Linked DNA regions of Homo sapiens: region 1 is linked to region 2. Evidence: promoter capture Hi-C in human tissues and cell types (Jung and others, 2019). All regions are on one chromosome and are shown on one strand. The core of a region is centred on a gene start or on the middle of the fragment in contact, and the rest is flanking DNA. Distances in the headings are between cores, read along the strand shown. Region 1 overlaps ITIH5 (inter-alpha-trypsin inhibitor heavy chain 5). Region 2 holds the start of ITIH2 (inter-alpha-trypsin inhibitor heavy chain 2).

Region 1 (4,869 bases), core at 320-2,819, 140 kb after region 2:
TACTACCCACTCAGCTAGGCTATGTGGTGTCTCCTATTGCTCCCGGGCTGCAAACCTGTACAGCATGTGACTGCATGGACTACTGCAGGCAATTGCAACACGATGATAAGTATTTGTTCATCTAAACATATCTAGACATAGAAAAGGTACACTAAAAATATGCTATTATAATCTTATGGGACCACCATCATATTTTCAGTCCATCATTGATTAAAATGTCATGATGTGGTGCATGACTATATATGTAACATGAAAATTACATATGTAATATGAAAATTCGATTACTATATATGTAATATGAACATTAGATTACTACATATGTAATATGAAAATTAGATTCCTTCCTGGGCTTTGTGAGCTAGGAATGGGCTTTATAAACCAGTAGTTCTCTTTAGCCTTCTGGAAAAATGAATGAGGAATTAAAATGTAGTCACCTGAGGGTCCAGTTCCTTTGCTCTCAGCAAGAATACACAGACACGAGGCAGCCCTGCCCAGCGCCCAGCCTGAGCGACACCCCCACCGGGGGGGCACCCACGTGGCCGTGCCCAGCAGGCGGGCCATTCTACCCAGCTTTCTTCAACGTGTAATTTCATGTGGGCCCCTTGCCCAAAAATAAAGAGCAAGCCATTGTCAGGGTTCAGTTTAGTAGGCAGGATTTCCTGGCTCTTGAGCTGGCCGCGTTTCGTGGGGCCTGGCGGCCCAGCATGAGCTCCCCTTGCAGACACAGCTCTTTATTCCTGTGGCCTGAGCAGTGCTGCCATCTGACCAGGAGAGTCCTGAGGACGAGGGTCAGAGAGGATCTGAGCTGACTGCTTTCCACCCCCACCCGGCACAGACCTGAGACGGATAGAAAGGAGGCGGGCCTGTGACTGGGAAGAGGACAGAGAGAAGATGGAACACTACTTCCCTCTTCATATGCCCCGTCCTGTCCTCTGGACTCAGTAGGAGACCGTGGTTATCACTATGTGTAGGTTACACAACTTTCTAGTGTTAGCAGCTGGGAAGCTTCCAGCAGTCATGGGTAAATCCCACAATGTGGATAAATCCTCAGCTCTCTCCACCCTGCCCCCCAGAGCACATGTTCTTCCATGTCACTGGGAGAGTCCAGTCTCGGGCTGTGGCCAGTTGTAAGCCTTTCTGCCACTGATAGCTCTGAAGTTGGAGTTCAGCACGAGGTTTCTGCATTTGACTGAGACCCGATGCTTTTCCTTGTCCTCCCAGGTCAGTTCCTGAATCAGGATGCCAGACTCACAGAAGACCCTGCAGGGCCCAGCCAGAACCTCACTCACCCTCTGCTCCTTCAGGTGGGAGAGGGGCCTGAGGCCGTCCTAACAGTGAAAGGCCACCAAGTCCCAGTGGTCTGGAAGCAAAGGAAGATTTACAACGGGGAAGAGCAGATAGACTGCTGGTTTGCCAGGAACAATGCCGCCAAACTGATTGACGGGGAGTACAAGGATTACCTGGCATCCCATCCATTTGACACAGGGATGACACTTGGCCGGGGAATGTCCAGGGAGCTCTGAAGCTGGCAGCCTTAAAGATGCAAGTGCATGAAGGACAGTGATGTGGGGAGGCCGTGGGGCAGCTCTTTTCATGGCTTGTACACGCCTCAGCTCCTGGCAATTAGCTGGACTCCATGACCCACCCCTGGTGCAGCATAGATCCGACGTCTGTCTGGGCGAAGGGTAGGGGTGGGTAGGGGCGGGAAGCCTGAGTGCAAATGTCATTTCCCTCTACTGCCTCTTCCTGCCTCTCCCCACCCTGCCCACATCCACAGAGGGGAGAGAAGGGTCATAGCTAAATGCAACAAAGTCTGTATCTTGTCCCAACCTGCTTTTCTGTTCTGTTAGCATATCATAAAGTAAGCCTTTCTGGTGAAGGAAGGTTGCTATGAAACTTTTTTTCTTGGTGGAAATGGACAAGTTTAGGCACTCTGCTTTTTGCCTTACACTAATGCTTAGAAAGCTGTCTTTTCAGTGGTGTTGCAGCCCCCAGATGTGTGGCCAACCTCTGCTGCAAAGGAATCTCTTGCTGAGTCCAGGCCACCAATCAGGCAAATAGCCCATACATTTGATCGTTGTAAACCATGAAGTCTTTTCTTGCAAGACGTTTTTCTTCTGCTGTGGTATCTTGCCCTTAAAAATTAGTTTTCATTAAAAAGAAATTTGATTGAAAATAGAAACATCTACAGCTCAGATACTGATCTCTTTCTAATGGGCTTTGTAAACCACTTGACTTTGCTAATGGCTATTCTCCAATTTGTTCCAATAAGCTAAGGGCTTTTCATACACAGGACAACTCCATGTGGTTGATTTTACTGGCATGTCTTGGTGACGAAGAGTTGGCCAAGTGAATGATGCATCTTTTACTTGGAGCTCTCCAGCCTTTGTCATAGTTCCCAGACCTTTTTTCCTTGTGGTCATCCAGGAGGTGATCAATTACATGTGCACAGTGCTAGGACGGGAGGCAGAGCCGGCTCAGAGCAGGTCCACCAGCCCACCTATAGCAGGAAGCGTGTCGGTGCTTAGGAAATCTAGGACTTCCAGCTTCCCTCATGTCAGATAGAAAAAAAGTCAGGAAACCAGCTCGTGGACAGGGGCTTTGGTTCCAAAACTTGGACAAACCTGATGCCTTAAGGAAAAGGTTAAGATGAGAGGGGACTTCCAGAGTCAATGAACGTCACCCTTCAGCGGACGGATACCGGGAGCGCTTGGGCGAAACAGCAGAGAAAGAAAGACTGTGGTCGGGGAAGTGGAATGCTTCGATGCAGGCCAGAGTTCAAGGCTCTGGGGCTGGCCTCACAAGAGGCTTCTTCCACGGGGCTTGACACCAGAGCAGCCCCCGCGTGAAATGAGAAGGCATGCTTAGCACTGGGAGGAAAAGCTGAGTTAAGAAAATTCTTTATCATGTTTGCCTTCCCTGGGGAAACATTCAGGCAGTAAAATGACATCCACGTGTTCCTGTCGGACGCAGCGGCTTCGGGAACAAGTTAGCGCTGGGGGACTATCTGGGCTCGTCTCTCTCTGCTTCGTGAACCCACCACACCAGGGCCTGTCTGCTGTGCTATTTATTTGCCTTCCGTCTTCCCAACCTCAGCTGCCTGTATTCATGCCAGAGGTGCAAAGGCTGCCAGCCAGTGCTGCTGACAGATGCTTTCAGACTGTAGAGCTCAGAGAAAGGGAGCGGCAGCTAGAGGTAGCCAGGGAGCTGGCCAGGCTCCCCGGGGCCTTCCTATTATGTAAATCCCAGCTGGACAGACAGCCCTGGAGCCAGGTGGCCCTGTCCCCTGTGGAGCACTTGGAGCAGTGATCTGTTGTTCCAGGTGTAAGTCTCGACACTGCAGAAATGAGGACGTTATTAGGAAAGACCAGTTCCTACTGCCTGTGTTGCTACTTTAAGAGCTGAGAAAAACATTCCAATGAGCTATCCATAGCTAACTTGCTTGCTCAGAAAAACATAAGTAACAAAGTTGAGCTTTCATTTTTAAAAATTATATTTTACTTTAGAAAAATATCACCTTTTTTCTTCCTCTTCTTTACGTGTAGATCTTTTTTTTTTTTTTCAAATGGGGTCAGTACCTGAAAGCCCGAAACCCCATACCAAGCTTATAGTTAGGACCTTTGCATTTGATAAAAAAAAAATATAGTATTTTCTGTTGTCCAGAAAATCTTCCCAGATAGGGAAACTGAGGCAGAGAGTGCCGTGGAGTGGTTTTTGCCAAGTCATACAACATACTTAATGCAGGGCTACACTGAACCTCCAGAATCATTTTGTTTGCTTTGACCCTGTTTCACCATCTGGGCAATCATTTATTTTCCTTGAGCATTTATAAACCAGGGCGAGGGTTGTTCCAAAATGAGTAATTGAATGAGATGAAGAAATATGTCATAATTAGAGGAGATAAATCTCCTTGTTATCACAATAGTTAATGTGTCATGATCACTGACTAACTGGGACCTTGAACAAGTCAGCATCTCTGCCTTTCAAAATGAAGGAACATTGTTCTCTATCCTCCCCTGACCCCCGACGGCCCCATGCTAGGTGCACCATCTTCCTCCATTTGACTTTTTAATGCTTTACAACTTCAGGCTAAAGGGAGGGGATGTTGGGAGGAGAAACCATCACAAGATTCCCTCGGTGCCACAGCTGTGCTGAGGAGGCCGGGGACTGGGAATCGGAGTGGGCACCTCTGTGTTTCTCTAGGGAGTAACATTCAACATTTAATTGAATCGTGTGTCCTGATAGGTGGATTAGGAACAGGATTCATTCCTTTAACTTTAACTTTTGGCTAAACGACATGCCTTGGATTGAGTGTATATGTCTTCCCCAAATTCATATGTTGAAGCTTAAATCCTGAATGTGATGGTTCTTGGAATTGGGACCTTTGGAAGGTTATTGGGTCTTGAGGGCAGAGCCCTCACGAATGGGATTAAGGCCCTTATAAGAAGAGACATGGGGCCAGGTGCAGTGGCTCACACCTGTAATCCCAACATTTTGGGAGGCCGAGAAGGGTGGATCATGAGGTCAGGAGATGGAGACCATCCTGGCCAACATGGTGAAACCTCGTCTCTACTAAAAATACAAAAATTAGCTGGGCGTGGTGGTGCGTGCCTGTAGTTCCAGCTACTTGGGAGGCTGAGGCAGGAGAATCGCTTGAACCAGGCAGTCGGAACTTGTAGTGAGCCAAGATCACGCCACTGCACTCCAGCTGGAGTGACAGAGCCAAACTCCGTCAAAAAAAAACAAAACAAAACAAAAAAAAGACATGGGAGAGATGGTGTTTTTCCTCTCCACCACCTGGGGATACGATGAGAAGATGGCCACCTGCAAGCCAGGAAGACGGCCCTCACCAGACACCATGTCTGCTGG
Region 2 (5,055 bases), core at 2,348-4,847:
GGTAGCGTATATCCCCTTGATGCTATTTGCTCTATTTTTTACTCAGTTGAATGGAGACTTTGATCCTCCATTCGGCCATGAGGCTGTGGGCATGCTGTTCCCACTGTTTGCAGTGCCCCTGCTAGGTTCCTCAACCCCCATATGGAGAACTCCTACTCACCCTTCAGATCTCAGCTCCAGCAGAATTCCTCCAGTGAAAATCTCTAACACCCCAAGACTAGGTCGGTTTCCTTTACTAAGTGTTTTTGCAGCAGCATATTCCTTCCTGCAGAGTGCTCACCTTGTTTCATAATGATTCATTCTATTTGAGGGATTATTTGACTAAAGTCTGTCTCTTCCTTTAAACTAAGCTACATAAAAGCAGGGATTTTCATGTATTTCCTCCACAGTGTAACCCCTGAGGCAAACACAGTGACTGGCACCTAGAAAATTCTATGCTTTTAACCACCATGCTAGGAGATTATCCATACACTTGACTGTCCTGAGGAAATGAACAAAGGCGATTCCCTTGCCTTTGAAAGTGAATGGCTTAAGGGTGGTGGGTGAACATGTAATGTTTGGTGAGCTGTTAATAATAGATCCAAGAAGTCGGGTGTTGGATATAAGCTCAGCTTGCCTGATTCGGGGTGAACTGAGGTTCTGTGCTGTGTGACATGGTGAGGTCAATGGTTGACCTCTTCTTGTAGACTTCTTGAATGCAATGCTCAATGACAAATTTTTCTCTCTTGTGGCTAAATAAATTGTGACATGAAGTCTTGCTTATTGGATTTTAATATTATTAGTCTACAAAAAAAAATCCTGGATTTTCAGAAAGTAAAAAATTCACACCCATACAAAATAAGACATTGATCAGCTTAGGGTTGCTGCTTCCGTAAATACCTCCTCTCTCAGCATGTGGGCTCCGTGGGGAAGAAGCCAAGCCCTTCCTGGTGTTCTGGAAAACTCACCCCCTTAATTAGAGGGTTTTGTCTATACTGCTGCTGGTGGCCGCCAGGATTGCAACTTCCAATGTGGCCAATTCTCCTTCTCAGGTGCCCTCAGAGTGACCAGAGGAAGGAGATTGTGAGGCTGCAAGGGGGAGTGTCTGTCATCGCTAAAATAAGAAAAGTCTTCCTAACAGGAAATCCTTCCGGCAAGGCAGGAAATAATTTCGGAATCTTAAGTTTTGAAGAAAACACATAGCCATGTATTCTTTTTTTTTTTTTTTTTTTTAAATGGAGTGGGGACAGCGTCTCCCTCTGTTGCCCAGGCTGGTGCAATCATAGCTCACTGCAGCCTCGAACTCTTGGGTTCAAGTGATCCTCCATCTCAGCTTCTCAAATAGCTGGGATTACAGGTGCATGCCAGCTAATATATATATTAGCTGGGTGGCAGAGGTAGAGCCTCACTATGTTACCCAGGCTGATCTGGAACTCCTGGCCTCAAGTGATCCTCCCTCCTTGGCCTCTGAAAATGCTGTGATTATAAGTGGGAGCCACTGTGCTGAGTCGTGTACTCTTTAAGGGACTAAATTGAGCATTATGGTGTGAAGGCTGCTGAGCAGTTGTGTGAGTTTCTCTTTTTATTTCACCTGGGTGATCTCTTCCACCAAGGTGTAAGAAGTCTGGACTCTTCTGTGCTAAAAAACAAACTCTTAAGAAAATCTAGCAGAAGGCATCTTAACACTTGTCTTCTTCTGCCATAATCTCTTTCACTTTTTTTCCCCCTTTTGGGAGTAAACCTTACTATACCTGATATCTCCGGTTCTCTGCCACCAATTGAAATTTGCCTGGGGCCAGTTCCACAAGATCTTCATAGTCTACAAACTTAAAAAAAATTAGGATTTTAACTTTTTTTTTTTTAATTATACTGTAAGTTCTGGGGTACATGTGCACAACGTGCAGATTTGTTACATAGGTATACATGTGCCATGTTGGTTTGCTACACCCATTAACTCATCATTTACGTCAGGTATTTCTCCTAATGCTATCCCTCCCCTAGCCCCCCACCCCCTGACAGGCCCCAGTGTGTGATGTTCCCCTTCCTGTGTCCATGTGTTCTCGTTGTTCGACTCCCACTTATGAGTGAGAACATGCGGTGTTGGGTTTTCCCTTCTTGTGTTACTTTGCTGAGAATGATGATTTCCAAAAGATCTAGAGCCAAAGAGATAGCTGTTGGTATTCATTATTTTATATTCTTTCCTCTACCTCTGGGCAATCACAATTTTGTATAAAATGATTTCTTTAGTATATTTCTATTTGCTGGTTACGTCTCAGAGGTGTCCAAATGGAGGGTAACAACACCTTCGCATTTGTTGGACATGGGAATTCATTTTTGAGTTTGCCAGCAGGTGGTAAGACAGAGATCAAAACAACCCAGTGATTAGGTGGGTGTCTGGGGAAGTATCTGGGTAGACCCTGGAGGCATTTGCAGTGTCTGACTGGACAGACATGAACCATACATCTCCCCAAGTTAAAAATGTAGGTATTTTCTAAAAGGAAATGCCAGTTAGAAATGACTGAAAAAGCACAAACACATTTGGATGTCTTGGCTTCAATTTGAGATTTCTAACACACTCTGGTGGCTTTTAAGTGTTGGAAAATATGATAGTTTCAAAGCAGACAGAGTGATATTTTCCCTTTGTAAATATGCCGTCATATTCTCTGGCATTTTTATAGGTAATCCACTCTGCAAGTATTATAAGCCTTTGCATTTGCTGGGATGTTCCCATAACATGCTTCGCTTTTCTGGCATAAAAATAGCTCTTGTATGACTTTCAGAAACAGACTTTCAGTCCAAGACTTTCCTTACATTGGAGATGGCTAAGGGACAAAAGTGGAGACCTGTACTCCATGGGAATTATTCTTGTACTTTTCCACCCTGCCTGCTATCTTCCGCTTTAATAGGAATACTTAAAGTGCTCTTATTACAAATATCACTGTTCACTTAGATATGAAAAACAGTGTGCTTTGATAATGACTTTTCTTATACTCTTAGTAAAAGAGTGATAATATTTCTTCATCATCATAACAGCTAGTAATTATTAAGCACTTACTAGTCCAGGCGCTCTGCTAGAAGAGTTTACACTGTGTCATTTAATTCTCAAAGCAAACCATTGGGTTAGGTCTATTCTTACCCCCAATTTTTTAGGTGAGGAGTGAGCAGCTCTGCTCCATAAATGCTACGCTCTGATGCCTGCCCATTGATCTTGACTTAATTTTCATGCAAAACCTGTTAATGCTTTAAAAGGTAAATATACATTCCAGTAATTATAACAGTAAACACTTGCACTCAGATGAATTTTATCTTAAGTTTCCATTACACACAGAATAAGGCCATTGAATAGCGATTCCAATAGATGATTTACTGAGCTCATGAACAAGCCAACAGCAAGGAGTGATCTGTAAGTACTTACTTCAGAAAGTCCATTTATGGGGATTTCGAAGCCTGATACTTCAGAAAGAAAGAAGCAGATGAAAAAGCACGTGAGTCTTTTCATTTTGCTGGACAGTTTTGCCAAGCTCCCCAAAGCAGATGGTCTGGGGAGGATATCACTTCTTCCTACTGAACCAAGTTCAAAGGAACAGCAGAGGAGTACAGTTCGCTTTAAGAAAGAAGAAAAAAGAAGAAAAAACTCTCTAACTTTGTTCAAAATTGGGACAAATATTTGTTCTGGAGCTCAAACTTGAGCTGTGTGGGTGGATCGAACACCCAGAGGTTATTCAAACAGCAAAGTCAGAAGCAGTTGCTTACTGTGAGGACAAGTCAGGGGCAGATGGATGTGCTTGAATGTGCTTGTGTGCTTTTATTTTATTTTTATTTTTTATTTTTTGGCTTTTGCTGATTTCTATTGATCTTAAAATCAGAGAGACCTACAGATAATTGTCATCCTTTCTAAAGGACCAAGTGCAGAACTATTCCAAGAAACAAAATCCTTTGATCTAAATGAAAGCAGGAAAAATTTAGAAAAAGTGGGAGAAGACACAGAAGGGTTTTTCTGAGCAAAGAATTCATTGTGCATGTTTTCCCCTATCTCTTTGATGACTGTCTACCTGTTACCTATAAAGACCCAGGCAAGTGGCTGTGCAGGATACTAGGGCAGATCTTCAGTGAGAATGCTTCGTGAATGTCTTTGATTAAGGTAACAGTGTCTGTCCTGCTGCCCCTATCAGCCGGGCTCAGGTCAGTGGCAAATCAATACTCCCCAGTCTCAGAATTGGAGTGCAGTGGTGAGATCAAAGCTCATTGCAGCCTCAACTTCCCCCGGCTCAAGCAATCTGCCCACCTCAGCCTCCAGAGTAGCTGGACTACAGGTGTGCACTACACTGCCTGGCTATTTTTTGTAGAGATGGGATTTCATCATGTTGCTCATCCTGGTCTTGAACACCTGGGCTCAAGCTATCTGCTTGCCTCAGCCTCCGAAACTGCTGGGATTCCAGATGTGAGCCCCCATGCCTAGCCTCCATCCTGGTCAGATTCTATTTTTCTTGCAACAAACAGGAAATGTAACTTCTTGGATGCAACACTGAAATAGGAAGCTCCAGCTGTGGGCAGAATTACAATACAAGGGAGGTTGTCTTATCCTCAGGACCAAGCACCCCAGGCCAACTTCTGGGATCCTGGAGCTCCTTGCTACATTTAAAGCCCAATTCACAGGGCATGCAACAGAGAGTTTTCTGCATTTTCCTCCCTAGTTTCCCCTCAGTCTTCGAAATTGCACAGCCGTGTGTCTGCTGGAGAAACATAACTTCTGAAATAATGGAAGGGAGAAAACAGATTCTCCCCTCCCTTGCCTAGGTTGGACTAGTTGAGCGCCCACCTTGGCCAGTGAGTGCCTCAGTGGACCCCTCATGGAAAAATCCTGCCACAGCTTTGCATTCTTGACTGAGATACTGTTTCTGGAGAATTAAGACCCAATGGCAGCTGGGCGCGGTGGCTCACACTTGTAATCCCAGCACTTTGGGAGACTGAGGCGGGTGGATGACCTGAGGTCAGGAGTTTGAGACCAGCCTGGCCAACATAGTGCAACCCCGTCTCTACTAAAAATACAAAAATTAGCCAGGTGTGGTGGCATGC

The links. The method cuts DNA at HindIII sites, captures the fragments that hold promoters and counts their contacts. A contact is called where the count stands out against the background at its distance.
Region 1: a fragment that was not itself captured here is called in contact with the fragment with the promoter of ITIH2 in region 2 in 2 of the 25 tissues and cell types used here (dorsolateral prefrontal cortex and pancreas).

Annotation. Positions count from the first base shown.
Region 1 is chr10:7,559,737-7,564,605 of GRCh38, reverse strand. ITIH5 (inter-alpha-trypsin inhibitor heavy chain 5) reads left to right here. Exons shown (of 14, transcript NM_030569.7): 14 at 1,222-4,869. The coding sequence ends at 1,523. Among named protein-coding and RNA genes, the nearest start is that of LINC02642, 89 kb to the right of the region's middle. The HindIII fragment of the contact is 6,231 bases long and covers 1-4,684 here.
Region 2 is chr10:7,701,858-7,706,912 of GRCh38, reverse strand. ITIH2 (inter-alpha-trypsin inhibitor heavy chain 2) reads right to left here and starts at 3,597. Exons shown (of 21, transcript NM_002216.3): 1 at 3,395-3,597; 2 at 1,731-1,805. The coding sequence starts at 3,478. The HindIII fragment of the contact is 26,123 bases long and covers 1-5,055 here.